2 separate regions of the Homo sapiens genome follow, and region 2 is linked to region 1. The links are contacts of gene promoters, found by promoter capture Hi-C in blood cells and fetal thymus (Javierre and others, 2016). All regions are on one chromosome and are shown on one strand. Each heading gives the region's core, a stretch centred on a gene start or on the middle of the fragment in contact. The rest is flanking DNA. Distances are from core to core; before and after follow the strand shown. Region 1 holds the start of DNAI7 (dynein axonemal intermediate chain 7). Region 2 has its middle 7.7 kb from the start of ITPR2.

What was found. The method cuts DNA at HindIII sites, captures the fragments that hold promoters and counts their contacts. A CHiCAGO score of 5 or more calls a contact.
Region 2: a contact is called between a fragment that was not itself captured here and the fragment with the promoter of DNAI7 in region 1, in 1 of 17 cell types (fetal thymus). The highest score is 5.3, in fetal thymus.

What each region holds. Positions count from the first base shown.
Region 1 is chr12:25,192,471-25,196,874 of GRCh38, reverse strand. It overlaps DNAI7 (dynein axonemal intermediate chain 7), which reads left to right and starts at 1,715. Exons shown (of 16, transcript NM_018272.5): 1 at 1,715-1,799. The coding sequence starts at 1,797. ETFRF1 (electron transfer flavoprotein regulatory factor 1) reads right to left here and starts at 1,638. Exons shown (of 3, transcript NM_001001660.3): 1 at 1,538-1,638. RefSeq lists an enhancer at 1,278-1,397. The HindIII fragment of the contact is 2,518 bases long and covers 1-2,071 here.
Region 2 is chr12:26,838,924-26,842,798 of GRCh38, reverse strand. No RefSeq gene overlaps it. Among named protein-coding and RNA genes, the nearest start is that of ITPR2, 7.7 kb to the right of the region's middle. The HindIII fragment of the contact is 1,419 bases long and covers 1,549-2,967 here.

The sequences.
Region 1 (4,404 bases), core at 466-2,965:
CAATGCAGTTTATCTTTATGCAGTTGACCTTGAAGCATTTAGGTTTACTTTAGCCACTAAGAGAAATAGGTCTCCTTGGGTTCACAATGTAGTGAATAAACAATTTTGAGTTCAGCAGGGCCCTGAGGCTGCTCCTGAACTCTGCATGAAGTCATGGAGGTTACTGTTTTAAGTAAAGAGCCAAGAGTTAAGGACTAAGAGAAGCCCCCTATTATTCTGAAAACTTGGATGTGTGCGCTGGATGAGACAGCGGTTGCAGTCCCCATTGATAGTTTTTTCCCCCTGTCATTCTAGGCTAAGGAGTTAGGACTTAACCAGTTCCAGTTCCAGGCTAATGGAAAATTGTCATTTTACTGGGGGTTATGTGGTGGCCAAAGTTGTTAATCATTGTTCCCCATGGGGTAGATACAGTGAGAGCTTCAGTAAAGCCTTTCCTCTAAAAGCCCACTATTTTAAGGTAACTTGGGATTACTGAACTATCTCCTTACCCCGATGAATCCTAACTTGAGTTGACTGAGGTGTTTTATCATTAAACATTAGTTTTACTGAAACTAATTTAAAAGGAAGCCTTAACTTTCATATCAAACAGCTATGGTAAACTGAGTAAGAACTCTGTACGAAGTCGCTATTAAAATGTTTTTATCTTGCTACCAGGATATGGATGTAAAATGCTAATAACTATTACACAACCTATAATAGTTACAGGTTACAATAGGGATAATAACACTTTAACCCACAAAGACTAGCTTAGTCCTACTACTTATCTATGAATAATGCATGTAGTCAATAACACTGGAAGGGATAGAGCATTATAAACTTATAATTCAGAGATGAGAAATGGTGCCAGTAATTTAAAAGTATTTCAGGTCTCATAATGCTAAAACAGGGTGTAGGTATGCCCTACAATTACAGAGAACTCAGTCGGGCTTGAGGAGAACAGCCTCACTTAATTGTAGTTTTCCTGTCGGTGTAAGGTGCCGGCGTTTCTTCATGTGGGAGGAGACTGAAATTCTAAAGGTTGTGTGGTTAGTAAAATTAGTCTGTGACCTCGGGAAACTAATGAGTCTTTGGGGCCTCAGCGATCTTCATGTTAAGGAATATTTTAGCCAGGAATTGCTTCATTTTCAATTCTTGTTTAGGGCGCTCTTAGGAAAAAGGACGCGTACGCTGCACAGAAAGTAAACAATAGAGCAGAAAGAAGAATCCGAAGGTCATTAATCTTAAAATAACCAACCCTCTGGAGCCAACTTATTTCTCTCTTTAAATTGCGGAATGAGCCCCATCCCCCTGCTGGATTAAACCGCAGAGGCCCAGGCCTCCCACCGGGTGTCCGCTGCATGAACCAGTCGCATGCCTGTTTCCTTCTCGAAACCCTCACAGAAAGACCCAACACACTCTAGGAAATAAACCGTCAACGTCAGGAGACGCTCAGAACCCTCTTCCCACACCCGGTGGTCCTCGCCCAGAGCATATTTCGCCTCCAGACCCCAGGATCCGGGAAATGGAACAAAACTCCCCGGCGGCGGCACTCACGCACTTTCCGGCACGCCGGAGCCGCAAAAGCCTCGACCGCTACGACTCCTCTGTCCGTCTACTGCGAAGCGGGGTGGCGTTGGGGGAGGTGGGCAACCTGTCAGTAAAGGGGGCGGGGCGCCGGCCGGAAGAGCCTCCGCGCGGCTGCGCTCTTTTCCTGGAGCTCAAGTGGGCGGGGCCTGTCGTCCGGGCAACCCGGGAGCGTTTGTCCACACAATTTCTGCTCCGACTCTGCGGACTACTGCAGTGGAGCTTGACTCTTAATGGTGAGCAAGGCAAATGAGGCAGACAGGTGGAGGGGCGACCACTGATTCTGCTTCACCAGTGTTAAATAATGTAATCAAGAGCCAGTCATATTTTACAGCGAAGCGGGTCGGTTTGGGAAATAACTCATACCTTGGGGTGGGTCGGCCCTCTTCTCAGCAATGGCTTTCCTTACCTGGACCAGGCGGACAGGTAGGAGTCCCAAACCAGTTTCTGCAAACGGGAGATGGTCAAAGCTGTCACACGGTATCCTGATCTCGAATGTTGCTAAGCTTGAAAATTGGTCCCAACCTAGTAACTTTCAGTAGTGATAGACGTTCCCACTAAATTTTCTTATTGCAACTTGGCGGAAATGTTTTAGTACTTCTCCAGCAGTTAATTAAAAGCTAATGCAATTTACTCTGCTTTGAAAAAATATTTTATGTCGTCTTTTGTGGGAATATGAATTGTTTTGTGATTCAAGGTTCTCATCCTGCATTAGTTAAATATGATAAGGCTTCTCATTTTGTTTTTCTGCACTCCTCAACTGCCATGTTTTCAGCAAGGAGACAGGCCAACATGTAGCTATGAGAGTATCTCTGATTTTCTTAAATGTGGTTTCCATCAAGACATTTTCTATAATTAAAACCAGAGGAAGTGGAGAATGTAATTACTTATTTAATTCATTAATTAAGGGAAAAATGTGGAGTGCATTCTTTGTACTTGGCACTGGGCTAGAAGCCAAGAATACCAAGAAGAACATGACGACAACTCTGCTTATAGGATACAGATTAAACAAATTAATTACAATACAGCTTTACAACTGTAACAATTGAAGCATCTAAAATGGGGTAACACACAGTTGGAAATGATGAAATTTCAGTGAGGGGAAACAAGGGAAGGAGAGTGGTGCTTTTCAACCTGTTTTAAAGTATAAATACGAGTTTTCCACATATGGTGGGAAGAAATAGGGAGTGGAGGCCTGGCGCGGTGGCTCACCCCTGTAATCCCAGCACTTTGGGAGGCCGAGGCGGGCAGATCACGATGTCAGGAGTTCGAGACCAGCCTGGTCAACATGGTGAAACCCAGTCTCTACTAAAAATACAAAAATTAGCCGGGCGTGTTGGCGCGCACCTGTAATTCCAGCTACTCAGGGGGCTGAAGCAAGAGAATCGCTTGAACCTGGGAGGCGGAGGTTGCAGTGAGCCGAGATTGTGCCACTGCACTCCAGCCTGGGTGACAGAGCGAGACTCCGTCTCAAAAAAAAAAGAGAAAAAAAGAAATAGGGAGTGGAGAGCATTCCTGGCGGAATGCAAATGGACCTTAAGTCAATTTATAATTGCTAATAAATTGGGGGAACAGTAAGCACTTACTTGTTACCTTCCAATTTGTTACCTGAGTTTCTTCTTCTTCTTAGATCCTTCTCCCAATGTTTCTCAAAGTGTGGCCCATGGAACATTTATTTCTAATGCACCCGGAGTACTTGTTAAAAATGCAGATTCCAGGAACCCACTCAACTCCAAATCTACTGTATTAGTTTCCTAAGTCTGCCAAGTAAGGAATTGCCACAAACTGAGTGGTTAAAGAAAAGAAATTTATTGTCTCGTAGTTCTGGAGACTAGAAGTCCAAGATCAAAGTGTCAGCAGGTCTGTGATACCTCTGAGGGCCTTAGGGAGAGATCTGTTCAGACCTTTCCTGGCTTCTAGTAGTTTCTTGGTTTGTGGCAACAAAACTTCATTCTTCACATGGCATTCTCCATCTGAGTATATTAAAATTATTATTATATAAGGACACAAATCATATTGGATTAGGGGCCCACCCTATTCAGTATGGCTTCATCTTAATTTAACTAATAAAATCAGCAGTGACCCTGTCTCCAATTAGATCAAATTCTGAAGTACTGGGGATCAGAATTTCAACGTATGAATTTTTTTTCTTTTTTTTTTTTCTTTTTGAGACTGTCTCGCTTTGTCACCTAGGCTGCAATGCAGTGTCACCATCATGGCTTATCGAAGTCTCAGCCTCCCTGGTTCAAGCAATCTTCCCAACTCAGCCTCCTGAATAGCTGGGAGTACAAGGCACGTGCCACCACACCCAGCTAATTTTTAAATTTTTTTAGACAGGGTCTTGCTTTGTTGCCCAGGCTGCCCTCAAACTCCTGGGCTCAAGTGATTCTCCCACTTTGACCTCCCAAAATGCTGGGATTACAGGAGTAAGCCAGTGCACCCAGCCAACATATGATTTTTTTTTTTTTTTTTTTTTTTGAGGCAGAGTTTCGCTCTGTTGCCCAGGCTGGAATGCAATGGCGCGATCTCGGCTTACTGAAACCTCTGCCTCCCGGGTTCAAGCGATTCTCCTTCAAGCGATTCTCCTGCCTCAGCCTCCCGAGTAGCTGGGATTACAGGTGCATGCCACCACGCCCAGCTAATTTTTGTATTTTTAGTAGAAACGAGGTGTCACCATGTTGGCCAGGCTGGTCTTGACCTCAGGTGATCCCCCTGCCTCGGCCTCCCAAAGTGCTGGGATTACAGCTGTGAGCCACCGCACCCGGACAACATGTAATTTTTTGAGCAATACAATTCAGCCCATAACATCTACTAAACCACAGTGTAGGAAGAGAAGTGAGC
Region 2 (3,875 bases), core at 1,009-3,508, 1.6 Mb before region 1:
GCTGCTTTTCTCACAGATAATCATAATCATAATAATAGCTAATATTTATTGAAGTTGGATGTGGTGGTTTATGCCTTGTAGTCCTAGCTCCTTGAGAGGCTGAAGCCAAAGGATTGCTTGACCCTGGAATTCTGGGATGCAGTGAGCTATGACTGCACCACTGCACTTCAGCCTGGATGACAGAGTGAGATCCTCTCTCTAAAAAACAGCAAAACAAAACAAAAAACATGAAAGGTTATTAAGCACTTTATGCCAGGCACCACATCAAGCCCCTTAAATGTAACTTCTAATTTAAACCTCACAAAGACCACATGAGATAGATACCATTATTGTCCTCATTTTACAGATAAGTAAAACGAGGCCCCAGAGGTTATGTATTTGCATAAAGCCTGGTAGAGAGTAAATTGTGAATTAGTAACTCATCCCAGGTCTATGCAATACTTGTGTCCTTAACTATTGTGGCATACAGGTATGGGATTCATTTAAGTGCCTGATAAATGCTTTCTGACATCTACATGGGAACATTAAATTGTATTTGGGGAAGAATCACTGCAAATTGAAGTAGGCAAGATTTTAGATATGCATACTTTTTTTTGAGACAGGGTCTTACTCTGCCGTCCAGTCTGGAGCACAGAGGCGTGATTTTGGCTCACTGCAATCTCTGTCTCCCGGGTTCACGCCTCAGCCTCCTGAGTAGCTGGGACTATAGGCATGCACCACCACGCCTGGCTAATTTTTGTATTTTTGGTGGAGATGGGGTTTCGCCATGCAGCCCAGGTTGGTCTCCTGGGCTCAAGCAATCCGCCTACTTTGGCCTCCCAGAGAACTGGAATTACAGGTGTGAACCACAGTGACTGGCTCATTTTTTTCTTAAAACTCCCCATTCTTTTCTGTTATAGAGACTGGGCCATTTTCTCTTTTCTTCAATATTTTGATGATTCTCAGCTCTAATTGATCATGGTTCTTAGAACCAAATGGTATCAGTTGTATCAGTTCTTCATAAAATACTTCTAATTACAACACCTCTCCTCTTTTTCATTTCCAAGCCCTTACAGAATTATGACATTAGGGTCAGATCAAGCCATAAGCGATTCAGCAGCAAGTAGTGTAAATACTTCTAAGAACTGTGACCCTCAAATAATATATATATATAATATTCACCATATGATTATGGTGAATATATATAATATTCAGAAGAATATTTTAATGGGATGTGAAGTTGGGAGTTTCAGTGGAGGCATCGAAATACCATCAGTAAGACCAAGATGCAAATTTTGAAAGGAAATATTTGACCACAAGGGATACAATGCTTAAAAATCTTTCTCCCAGACCAAGGATATGAAACAGTTGGGCTGTTGGAGATGTGAGTGTTTTGGAATGAGCTACTGCTCTGTTGCGTCTCACGCCGTACATACCCAGTGCAGGAGAGAAGAACGTGTGCATGCATGTGTGTGTGCGTGTGTGTGTGTGTCAGTCATGGGGAGGGAAGTCTTTGACTCTCAGATCTAATCTAGTGAGAAGAACTTCAAAGGCACCACATGGAAAGCTTATATTTGTCTCCTGCAGGTAGGGAAACACAGTAGATTGATGTCAAACTCTGGCTTTGGAAACAGAGAGGTTAAGGGTCAAAAGATGTGATAGACAATATTTTTGAGATGAATGTCAGACTTTTTGTTGCCTGGAGATTGGCCTGCATTTCCAGAGTTTTCCCAGGCTAAGATTGTTTCTTCTGGGCCACATCTTCAAAACAGATCTGGTTTGGGATTATTCTTAAATTCCTGTCCACTAGACAACACTCTGAGAGTGATCAAAACTGACACTGTCAACAAAGAGCAGATATAGCTATACATCGTGTGCCTAAGGTTAGGGTGCCCTGGGAAGAACACAAAATCACTTTTGTAGTATTCTGGCTAGAAATGCTTCATCAAATCTAAGTGTGAAATACAAGACAAATCCAATTATGGAACAGCCTATAAGTAAATGACTTGTATTCTTTTTTCTGTTTTTTTTTTCTGTTTTTTTTTTTTTTTTTTGAGACAGAGTCTTGCACTGTCATCCAGGCTGAGTGCAGTGGCGCGATCTCAGCTCACTGCAACCTCCACCTCCTGGGTTCAAGCAATTCTCCTGCCTCAGTCTCTTCAGTAGCTGGGACTACAGGTGCCTGCCACCACGCCCAGCTAATTTTTGTATTTTTAGTAGAGACGGGGATTCACCATGTTGGCCAGGATGATCTCAAACTCCTGACCTCCAGTGACCTGCCCGCCTCGACTTCCCAAAGTGCTGGGATTACAGGCGTGAGTCACTGTGCCTGGCCAGATGGCTTGTATTCTTAAAAAATGTCAATGTCACTGAAGCCAAAGTGTGGCTAAGGAATTGTTATAGATTAAAAGAGACAAAAAAAACATGAAAACTGAATGCTATATGTAATTCTAAATAGGATTCTGTCCTGGAAGAAAAAAATGATGTAAAAGACACTATTGAGACAGTGGTATATCAGAGTTAAATTTCCTGAACTCGATGGTTGTTCTGTGGCTATATCTTTGTTCTTAGGTATACATGAAGTATTAAAAGGCAATAGGGCATGATGTATGCAACCTACACTCAAATGGTTCTGAAAATAAATTGCATGCGTACGTGTGTAAAGGCAGTGATAAAACAAATGTGGCAAATTATAAAAATTACTGAATTTAGGTCACAGGTATTCTTATAACTTTTCTGTAAATTGGAGATTATTTCTGTAAGTTTGAGGTTATTTCAAAATAAAAATTAAAAACAGATCATTTTCTGAGCCACTAGCCAAGGTTTGTTTCAACCTCTTCTCCCCAACCCCTACCGACATACAATCACCCCCTTCAGGAATGTTAGTAAGTCCCCACCAAGACAAGCTAAATCAGAATCTCAGGAGCTAAGGCCCAAGGATTTGTGTTTTAACAAGTTCTCCAGGCGGTTCTTATGTGTACTAAAGCTTGAGAAACACTGGTTTAGCCTAGTTAAGAACCATGCTTGGAGTTGGGGGTGGGGTTAACCCCATTGGGCTGTTACACTATGGGGGAAAGGTGGCTGGGGATAGGGGAAATGGCCACAGGATCTGTCTCACATGACTGTTAAGATGATAGTGGCTGAGATGGTTACATTCTCCCCTATCCCGCCCACCTTTTTCCTTTTAGCTTTGACCCAGAGGCCTTAAGGACACATTTTTAGTCCAACATTTCACAACAGGAGGTATACGTGACTAATGTATATTTATTAGAGAGCAAATTCACAAAACTCTCCACACTGAATACAAATTGATTATGGTGAATTAGCAGAGTTGTTCATTTTTGGCCTAGTGAGGAGTAGCAGAGATTTTTCCTTGGGCATGGTGGGCTGCAGGTCCCAAGCCCTGCCCCACAGGGAGGCAGCTGAGGCCCGGTGAGAATTCGAGCACAGAGCTGGCAGGCTGGCACTGCTGGGGGACCCGGCGCACCCTCCGCAGCTGCTGGCCCAGGTGCTAAGACCCTCATTGCCCGGGGCCGGAGCTGGCCGGCTGCTCCGGGTGCGGGTCCGCCCAGCCCATGCCCACTCGGAACTCGAGCTGGCCCACAAGTGCACTGCAGCCGCGGTTGCCGCCCGCGCCTCTCCCTCCACACCCCACAGCAAGCAGAGGGAGCTGGCTCCGGCCTCGGCCAGCCCAGAGAGGGGCTCCCACAGTGCAGCGGCTGGCTGAAGGGCTCCTCAAGCGCAGCCAGAGTGGGCGCTGAGAGCGAGCTAGGGCTGCCAGCACACTGTCACCTCTCACCTACAAGAGCCTGGCCTTGGATGTTCTAATTGGAAGTGATTTGGTATGTCAGATTTGTTGATCTGTCTGAGTAGGGAAAAAGGAATTGGAGATTGAT